Linked DNA regions of Homo sapiens: regions 1 and 3 are each linked to region 2. Evidence: promoter capture Hi-C in human tissues and cell types (Jung and others, 2019). All regions are on one chromosome and are shown on one strand. Each heading gives the region's core, a stretch centred on a gene start or on the middle of the fragment in contact. The rest is flanking DNA. Distances are from core to core; before and after follow the strand shown. Region 1 overlaps ZNF493 (zinc finger protein 493). Region 2 holds the start of ZNF66 (zinc finger protein 66). Region 3 holds the start of ZNF708 (zinc finger protein 708).

Region 1 (2,732 bases), core at 202-2,701, 630 kb after region 2:
ATGCAGTTAAGGTTAAGATAAAAGGGGACAGGGAGGGTCATACTGACCATGTAGTTGTTATTGTACATCAGGGATGCTATGATTTAGTATCCTGAAACTTTGCTGAAGTTGTTTATTAGTTTAAAGAGCTTTTCTACTGAGACTGTAGGGTTTTGAAGATACAGAATCCTGTCATCTGCACACAGGAATAGTTTGACTTCCTCTCTTCCTGTCTGAATGCCTTTTATTTCTCTCTCTTCCCTGATTGTTCTGGCCGAGACTTTGAATTCTATGTTGAACAAGAGTTTTGAGAAAAAGCATTCTTTTCTTGTGCCAGTTTTCATGAAGGAATGCTTCCAGCTTGTGTTCATTTTGTATGTTGGCTGTAAGTTTGTCATACTTAGATAACTCAGTATTTTGATGTATGTACCTCCAATGCCTAGTTTTTTGAAAGTTTTAAACATGAAGGATGGTAAATTTCATTGCAAGCTTTTTTAACATCTACTGAAATAACCCTGTGGTTTTTGTCTTTAGTTCTGTTTACTTGAGGAGTAACATTTATTAATTGCATGTTGAACCAACCTTTTATTTCAGAGATACAGCCAAGTTGATCGTAGTGGATTAGCTTTTTGATGTTCTCCTGGATTTGGTTTTCCAGTATTTTCTTGAGGATATTTTCATCAATGTTCATTAAAAATATTGGCCTCAAGGTTTCTATTTTTTTGTTTTATATTTGCCAAATTTTCATATTAGAATAATGCTGTTTTTACATAATGGGTTGGAAAGAAGTCCCTTTTTCTCAGTATTTTGAAATAATCTTAGTAGGAGTGGTACCAGCTCTTACTTTACATCTGGTAGAATTCAGCTGTAAATTTGTGTGGTTCTTTGTTTTATTTTTGGTGGGCAGGCTATTTATTTATTTATTTATTTTATTTTATTTTATTTTTTGAGACAGTCTCACTCTGTCGCCCAGGCTGGAGTGCAGTGGCACAGTCTCAGCTCACTGCAACCTCCACCTCCTGAGTTTAAGCAATGCTCTGCTTCAGCCACCTGAGTAGCTGGAATTACAAGTGTGCACCACCACACCCAGCTAATTTTTGTATTTTTAGTAGAGATGGGGTTTCACCATGTTGGCCAGGCTGTTCGCTGTTCTTGAACTTCTGACCTCGTGATCCACTCGCCTCGGCCTCCCAAAGTGCTAGGATTACAGGAGTGAGCCACCATGCCCGGTCAGCTATTTATTTATCTACTTATTTATTTATTTCATTTTATTTATTTATTTATTTTTGAGATGGAGTCTCGCTCTGTCACCCAGGCTGGAGTGCAGTGGCACGATCTCGGCTCACTGCAACCTCCACCTCATGGGTTCATGCCATTCTCCTGCCTCAGCCTCCCGAGTAGCTGGGACTACAGGCACCCGCCATCACGACCGGCTAATTTTTTGTATTTTTAGTAGAGATGGGGTTTCGCTGTGTTAGCCAGGCTGGTCTCGATCTCCTGACCTTGTGATCCACCTGCCTTGGCCTCCCAAAGTGCTGGGGTTACAGGCATGAGCCACCATGCCTGGCCCTGGCCAGCTATTTATTACTAATTCAATTTTGGAGCTTGTTACTGGTCTATTCAGGGATTCAATTTCTTATTTGTTCAGTCTTTGCAGGATGTATCATTGTTCCAAGGTTATAATCCTCAAGCTTGGCCCTGACGAACTCTCTAATTATATTCATGTTTCCTCAGTTTTTTCCTTTTAGGTAGACATATTAATAGAATGGGCTAGAGGAGCCTCTATGAAGGGATCTCTCCTTTGATTGTACTCTGCTTGCTGTAACACCCAAGAATGCAGAGTCAGGCTAACCCCACTTAGAATCTGCACATAGGGTCAGGCCTCTGCCTGGGATTTACAAGACAGGGCCAGACTTTCAATTGTGAATGTAATGAAAACCAACAAAATGCATTTTCTGCATTGTGAGATGTCAACATAGACATCTTAAAGCCCCCCTTTGAGAGTGTGGCTTTTTAAGCTTTTCAGATCTTGTTTAGTGACCTGCTACAGTTATATGAGAGGCTCCAGGTATAAATAGAATCTGATGACAGAATCTATAAGTGTAAACAAGCATCTTAAGAGTGAGGGATAAGGCCACAAAGTATCCAGAGCTATGACCACAACTATACCTACCTGTAAATTGTAATAATGGAGTAGAGTATTCTTGTCCTTCTTACCCAAAAGCTAGCACATCAGGATAGGTGATCCAGGTTCTGGAGTTCCACCAAAGCAGTTCCATTTTCTATTTAGAATCAGCATGAATCTCTCTCAGCCTGGCTTATCACTGGGCCATCAGCCTTGAGTCACTGAGAACCGTCTCACAATCACCTAGGTGTCTTTAAGACATTTGAGGATGTCAGGGACAGAATTGTGTCGGGATTACATGGCCAATTTGCAGAAATCTCTTTACTTGTGCTCTCTCCACAGGTTCTGTGTATTGTTCTAGGTGAAAGTATTCATGTTTTAATTGTGTCTCATGTGACTCTTAAGGTGAGGACAGAATTAAGTGTGTGGGGTTCAAGATAGATTCATGAGAGTTAAGTTTCACCTTTGCACTAAAAGGTGGTCACAGGAACTGTTCCGTTTGGTTTTGATAGGAAGAGGTCAGTGTCACCCATATTTTCATTACTATAGCAGAAATTGCTGGTGTTTGTGGCAAGGGCAGGCACATGAAGACAAATAGAGAAACATATTTTTATATTCATTGAGCAGC
Region 2 (2,700 bases), core at 91-2,590:
ATAATACACAGATTGATATAATAAGCAAATTGCAGTAAGAAGAGGAGATGGGAAAAGATATATATATATATTTACCCTCACTAGACTATGGAGGATTACCAACTGAGTAGGAAGAAACAGCCCAGGCTCCAGAGTCGGCCACCCATTCATGCACAGACAAGGAGTCTCATGAAGCTTCAGGGTGGTCTGGGACCCTAGCTCTTTTGTAACGAGTTGTTTGGCATAAGGCCCAGTGAGGAGGGCCATTTGGGACTTGCCTCACGGAACACAAAAGGGTCAAGTTGTTTTTGTGATTGTCTATTGTTTTTCAACAACTAATGTATAGTAATAGAATGAAATAGACATTTCTTTGATACAGCTCTGGATGAACACCTCAGGGGCTCACAACCAGGACCTGTTCTGGGACTTGGTGACCATTGTGTCCACGTTCAATTGAGTTCAAATTTAACATTTAACTTTTCCTCCATAAATTCTCCTGTCTTCATGAATTGGCTCTGTCTAGGCAAAGGGCAAAATGAACCCCTTGGGCTGTTACATAACCTCCACCTCCTGGGTTCAAGTGATTCTCCTGCCTCAGCCTCCGGAGTAGCTGGGACCACAGATGTGCACCACCATACCCAGCTAATTTTTTACATTGTGAGTAGAGATGGGGTTTCACCATGTTGGCCAGGCTAGTCTTGAACTCCTGACCTCAAGTGATCCACCCACCTTGGCCTCCCAAAGTGTTGGGATTACTGGCATGAGCTACCTGTGCCTGACCCTAAATTATTTCTATCTCTTATAGCAGTTTGAAATTACTTAAAGGTTGTTTCAAGTTGAAAAAATAAGAAGAATGTGGATAAAAATAAAATATAAATAGATAAAAAAATTACAGGGATTACAAAATATATATGTAAATCTGGAGTGGTCAAAAATGACAAATTTGATTTATTTATAAGGTTTTATTAAAATTAGCTTTAATCGTTAATACACTATTACCAAAGTAAAAGCTGATTTTCTCTTGAACAAAAATTTTATGTATTATTAATATGACAGCAAAATACTTCTGTTCACCTTTGAATACATTCAACAAGACAGAGAGTAAAAAAGAGATAAAATGTTCCCATGCTCTGGCATGGACCAGGCTCAGCTCTGGGAGGAAGCCCTGCCTGAAAAGGCTGCAGCTTAGGCTGTCACTCTTTTCTTCACTCCGCCCAGCAGCTGATCACATCTTCTGTCACTCAGTGTCTGAGGGGGCGGGACCTTAAGCATTAGCCAATCAGAGGCGCTGGGCTGGAAACCGTCCAATCAGGCACGCAGCTGGAATGAACAGGACGGCTTCCGGATTTGGCGGGGTCTTTGTCTCTCCCTGCAGCTGGAGCTCCAGGTCGTCTGTTCACTGCTCTCTGTCTTCTTCTCCTAGAGGCCCAGCCTCTGTGGCCCTGTGTCCTGCAGGTATTGGGAGATCCACAGCTAAGACGCCAGGACCCCCTGGAAGCCTAGAAATGGTGAGAGTGCCGGTCCAGCATCCCGAGAGAGGTGAAGTGTCTGTGGCGGGACTCAGGCCTCCCCTCAGTCAGCTCCACAATCTGCACCCCGAATTCTCCTTACCCAGCTCTGCCTCAGTCCCATTCAGCCATAAGATGGCGGCTACGCTGACAGCCTGGCCCCCGGGCGTCCTGTCGCTTCCCCGCGCAGTGACTGTGCCCCTGGCCTGGAGCGCTCTGTGGGCAGCTCTGCACCCGCAGTGCCGTGTCTCTCCCAGATTGTGCAGGGACCACCGGAGGGTCTTCAGGGGAGAATGCTGACTCGCGGTGCGGGTTCATGAATGGGAAGAGCTTTGGTCTGTGGGGTTCACAGTTTCTCTTTTCTGCTATTAAAATTGTATGGGGCCGGGCGCGGTCGTTCAAGCCTGTAATCCCCGCACGTTGGGAGGCCGAGGCGGGCGGATCACTTGAGGTCAGGAGTTGAAGACCAGACTGACCAAAATGGGGAAACCCCTTGTCTACTAAAAATACAAAAATTAGGTGGATATGTTGGCGAATGTCTGTAGTCCCAGCTTCTCGGGAGGCAGAAGTGAGAGAATCGCTTGAACCCGGGAGGCGGAGGTTGCAGTGAGCTGAAATCCTGCCACTGCACTCCAGCCTGGGCGACAGAGCAAGACTCTTGTCTAAAAAAAAAAAAAAAAAAAAAAAATTATGGGAGTCACTGCAAAAATATCAAACAATTTAATCAAAGAGTGATTCAAGAATTGTAGAGCACCCAGCTATAGTTTGTAGTTTGTGGTCCATGGGAGAGGCTTGAAGAAAAGACATTTATAAAATGCATGATGAGGAAAACCAAATTCAATAATTTGTTAGGTTTAGTAATGTAGTTTCTTAATTTGTACAATCAAGGTGGAAATTTCCTGGTTATGTAATTAGAGCTTAATTGGCAGTTTATAGTTGCTGAAGCCTGAATTTTGTTTCCCCTAATGTAGTAATTTGCCAAAAAATGCACTTGAGCTTAGATTTTTTTTTTTTTTTTTTTTTAGAAATAGAAATCCGGGGACTAGAGCCTCTTCAGTCTAATTGCCTGCCACTTAATTATTTTCACATCCCACAGGGGACTGACTTTCCCTGGCATTTTTCACATGTGTCCCAAGCAGGGCCTCAAGTGTCCCCCATGTTCCTCAATTAATTATTATTATTATTATTATTTTTTGAGACGGAGTCTTGCTCT
Region 3 (2,700 bases), core at 151-2,650, 550 kb after region 2:
ACACTCTAGCAGAAAAAGTCATGATGTGTATCTTGGTTTACTCCAGACAGTACTGAAACCCAGGACCAGGAAAAAACTGAAGGGTGGCTGAAGACACATCACTCCGTAAAGTTTCCAAAGAAAAACCTTCACCTGAAAACAAACATTCTGATAAGATTTCTGTGCCTGAGGAAGATAAAAAAAAAAAAGCCATAGAAATTTCATAAAATACAGTGTCAGGGAATTATTTTTTGCTTTCTTCTCATGAGAAATATTTTCAACCAGAAAACAATTTTAAGTGCCATCCAATGCTTTGTCAAAAAATGATTAACTAAAATACAGTATCAAAAATGTACACTAAAGGAAAAACAGTTGAGAATGTGAATTAGGAAAGGCAAGCTGGCATTTGGAAATGTCAGAAGGAACTAGAAATTTAGTATTTTAGTTTATTTGCAGTTTAAATCTAACTGCAGGCCAGAGTTAGGCTGGAGGAATGGGGCTGGGAGGTACACTTGAGACCCCGCTTGGAACGCATGTGAAAAATGCAGGGGAAAATCAGTCCCCTGTGGAGTGTGAGAATAATTAAGTGGCAGGCAATTACACTGAGGAGGCTCTAGTCCCCGGCTTTCTACTTAACAGCAACAGCTACGTAAATGTACCTAACCGATTATTAAATATAGTTTTCTTCATCATGCACCTTATAAAAAGTCTTTCCTTCAAGCTCCTCCCATGAACCACAAACTACAAAACATACTTTTGTGCTCTACAATTATTGAATCACTCTTTGATTAAATTCTTTAATATTTTTTGCGATGACTGCCACAGATTTTTAATAGGAGAAAATAGGAACCGGGAACCCCACAGACCAAAGCTCTTCCCATTCATGAACCCGACCCCAAGTCAGGATTCTCCCCTGACCACCCTCCCATGGTCCCTGCACAATCTGGGAGAGGCGCGGCGCTGCCGGTGCAGAGCCGCCCAGAGAGGGCTGCAGGCCAGGGCACAGTCACTGCGCAGGGAAGAGACAGGACGCCCGGGGGCCCGGCTGTCGGCGCAGCCGCCATCTTATGGCTGAAGGGGACTGAGGCCGAGCTAGGCAAGGAGAACTCGGAGCGCAGATTGTGGAGATGACTGCGGGGAGTCCTGAGTCCCGCCACAGCCACTTCCCACAGGTTTCAACCAGCCCTTCCCCTCTCTCGGGATGTCGGACGGCACTCTCACCATTTCTAGGCTTCCAGAGGGTCCTGGAGTCTTAGCTGTGGATCTCCCAATACCTGCAGGTCACAGAGCCACAGAGTCTGGGCCTCTAGGAGCAGAGGACAAACAGCAGTGAAGACGAGACCGGAGCTCCGGCTGCAGCAAGAGACAAAGGCCGCGCCAAACCCGGAAGCCGCCCTGTCCGGTCCAGCTGCGTGTCTGAGTGAACTGTCCCCAGCTCAGAGTCCCTGATTGGATAATGTTAAAACCCGCCCCTTCAGGCCCTGAGGGACGGAAGATGTGATCAGATGCTGGGCTGAATGAAGTGTGACAGCCTATGCTGCAGCCTTTTCAGGCAAGGCTTCCTCCCTGAGCTGAGCCAGGCCCACCCGAGAGGGTGTTTGCCTTTAATCTTGTGTATAAGGTCATATGCCCTTATAAATAATATGCTATATGGCTATTCACAAATGAAAAGAATATAATAACCCAATTGTTCTAAAAAAAATTTTTTTTTTGAGATTGAGTTTCACTCTTGTTGCCCAGGCTGGAGTGCAATGGCGCGATCTTGGCTCATCGCAACCTCCACCTCGCGGGTTCAAGCGATTCTCCTGCCTCAGCCTCCCGCGTAGCTGAGATTACAGGCATGCGCCACCATGCCCGGCTAATTTTTTTGTATTTTTAGTAGAGACGGGGTTTCTCCATGTTGGTCAGGCTGGTCTCAAACTCCAGACCTCAGGTGATCCTCCCGCCTCGGCCTCCCAAAATGCTGGGATTACAGGCATGAGCCACTGCGCCCGGCCCAACTGTTCTAAAATTTTATATTTTGTGACCTTCCTGACTTCTGGTCCTTTGAGCAGGCAGCCTGAGATTTTAAAAAGGAGGCAATTCTCTGAAATAAAATGTGAGCCACAAGTTGGGCGCTGTACCTCACGCCTGTAATCCCAGTACTTCGGGAGGCCGAAGAGGGTGGATCATCTGAGGTTCAGAGTTCGAGATCAGTCTGGCCAACATGGTGAAACCCCGTCTCTAAAACAATACAAAAAAATTAGCTGGGCATGGTGGCAGGCGCCTGTAATCCCAGCTACTTGGGAGGCTGGGGCAGGAGAATCGCTTGATCCTGGGCGGTGGAGGTTGCAGTGAGACGAGATCACGCCACTGCACTCCAGTATGGACAACAAGAGTGAAACTCTGTCTCAAAAAAAATAAATAAATAAAATAAAATCATAAAATGTGAGCCACATGTAAATTTTAAATTTTCTAGTAGCCAAACTTTATTTTATATTTTTATTTTTTTAGACGGAGTCTCACATTGTTGCCTGGGCTGGAGTGCAATGGCGCGATTTCTGCTCACTGCAACCTCTGCCTCCCGGGTTCAAGCGATTCTCCTGCCTCAGCCTCCCAAGTAGCTGAGATAAAAGGCGCTGGCCACCATGCCCGGCTAATTTGTAGCCAAACTTTAAAAAGAGTTTAGCTCTATTTTTAAAAAGAAACAAAGAACAGGTGAAATTGATTGTAACAATTTAA

The links. The method cuts DNA at HindIII sites, captures the fragments that hold promoters and counts their contacts. A contact is called where the count stands out against the background at its distance.
Region 1: a contact is called between a fragment that was not itself captured here and the fragment with the promoter of ZNF66 in region 2, in 1 of the 25 tissues and cell types used here (pancreas).
Region 3: a contact is called between the fragment with the promoter of ZNF708 here and the fragment with the promoter of ZNF66 in region 2, in 3 of the 25 tissues and cell types used here (heart right ventricle, spleen and stomach).

What each region holds. Positions count from the first base shown.
Region 1 is chr19:21,400,719-21,403,450 of GRCh38, forward strand. All of the region lies in intron 1 of ZNF493 (zinc finger protein 493), which reads left to right. Among named protein-coding and RNA genes, the nearest start is that of ZNF493, 5.0 kb to the left of the region's middle. The HindIII fragment of the contact is 764 bases long and covers 1,070-1,833 here.
Region 2 is chr19:20,774,964-20,777,663 of GRCh38, forward strand. It overlaps ZNF66 (zinc finger protein 66), which reads left to right and starts at 1,341. Exons shown (of 4, transcript NM_001355197.2): 1 at 1,341-1,487. The coding sequence starts at 1,485. The HindIII fragment of the contact is 10,177 bases long and covers 1-2,700 here.
Region 3 is chr19:21,328,010-21,330,709 of GRCh38, forward strand. It overlaps ZNF708 (zinc finger protein 708), which reads right to left and starts at 1,401. Exons shown (of 4, transcript NM_021269.3): 1 at 1,201-1,401. The coding sequence starts at 1,203. RefSeq lists enhancers at 954-1,153, 1,194-1,373, 1,258-2,246 and a silencer at 1,493-1,714. The HindIII fragment of the contact is 12,621 bases long and covers 1-2,700 here.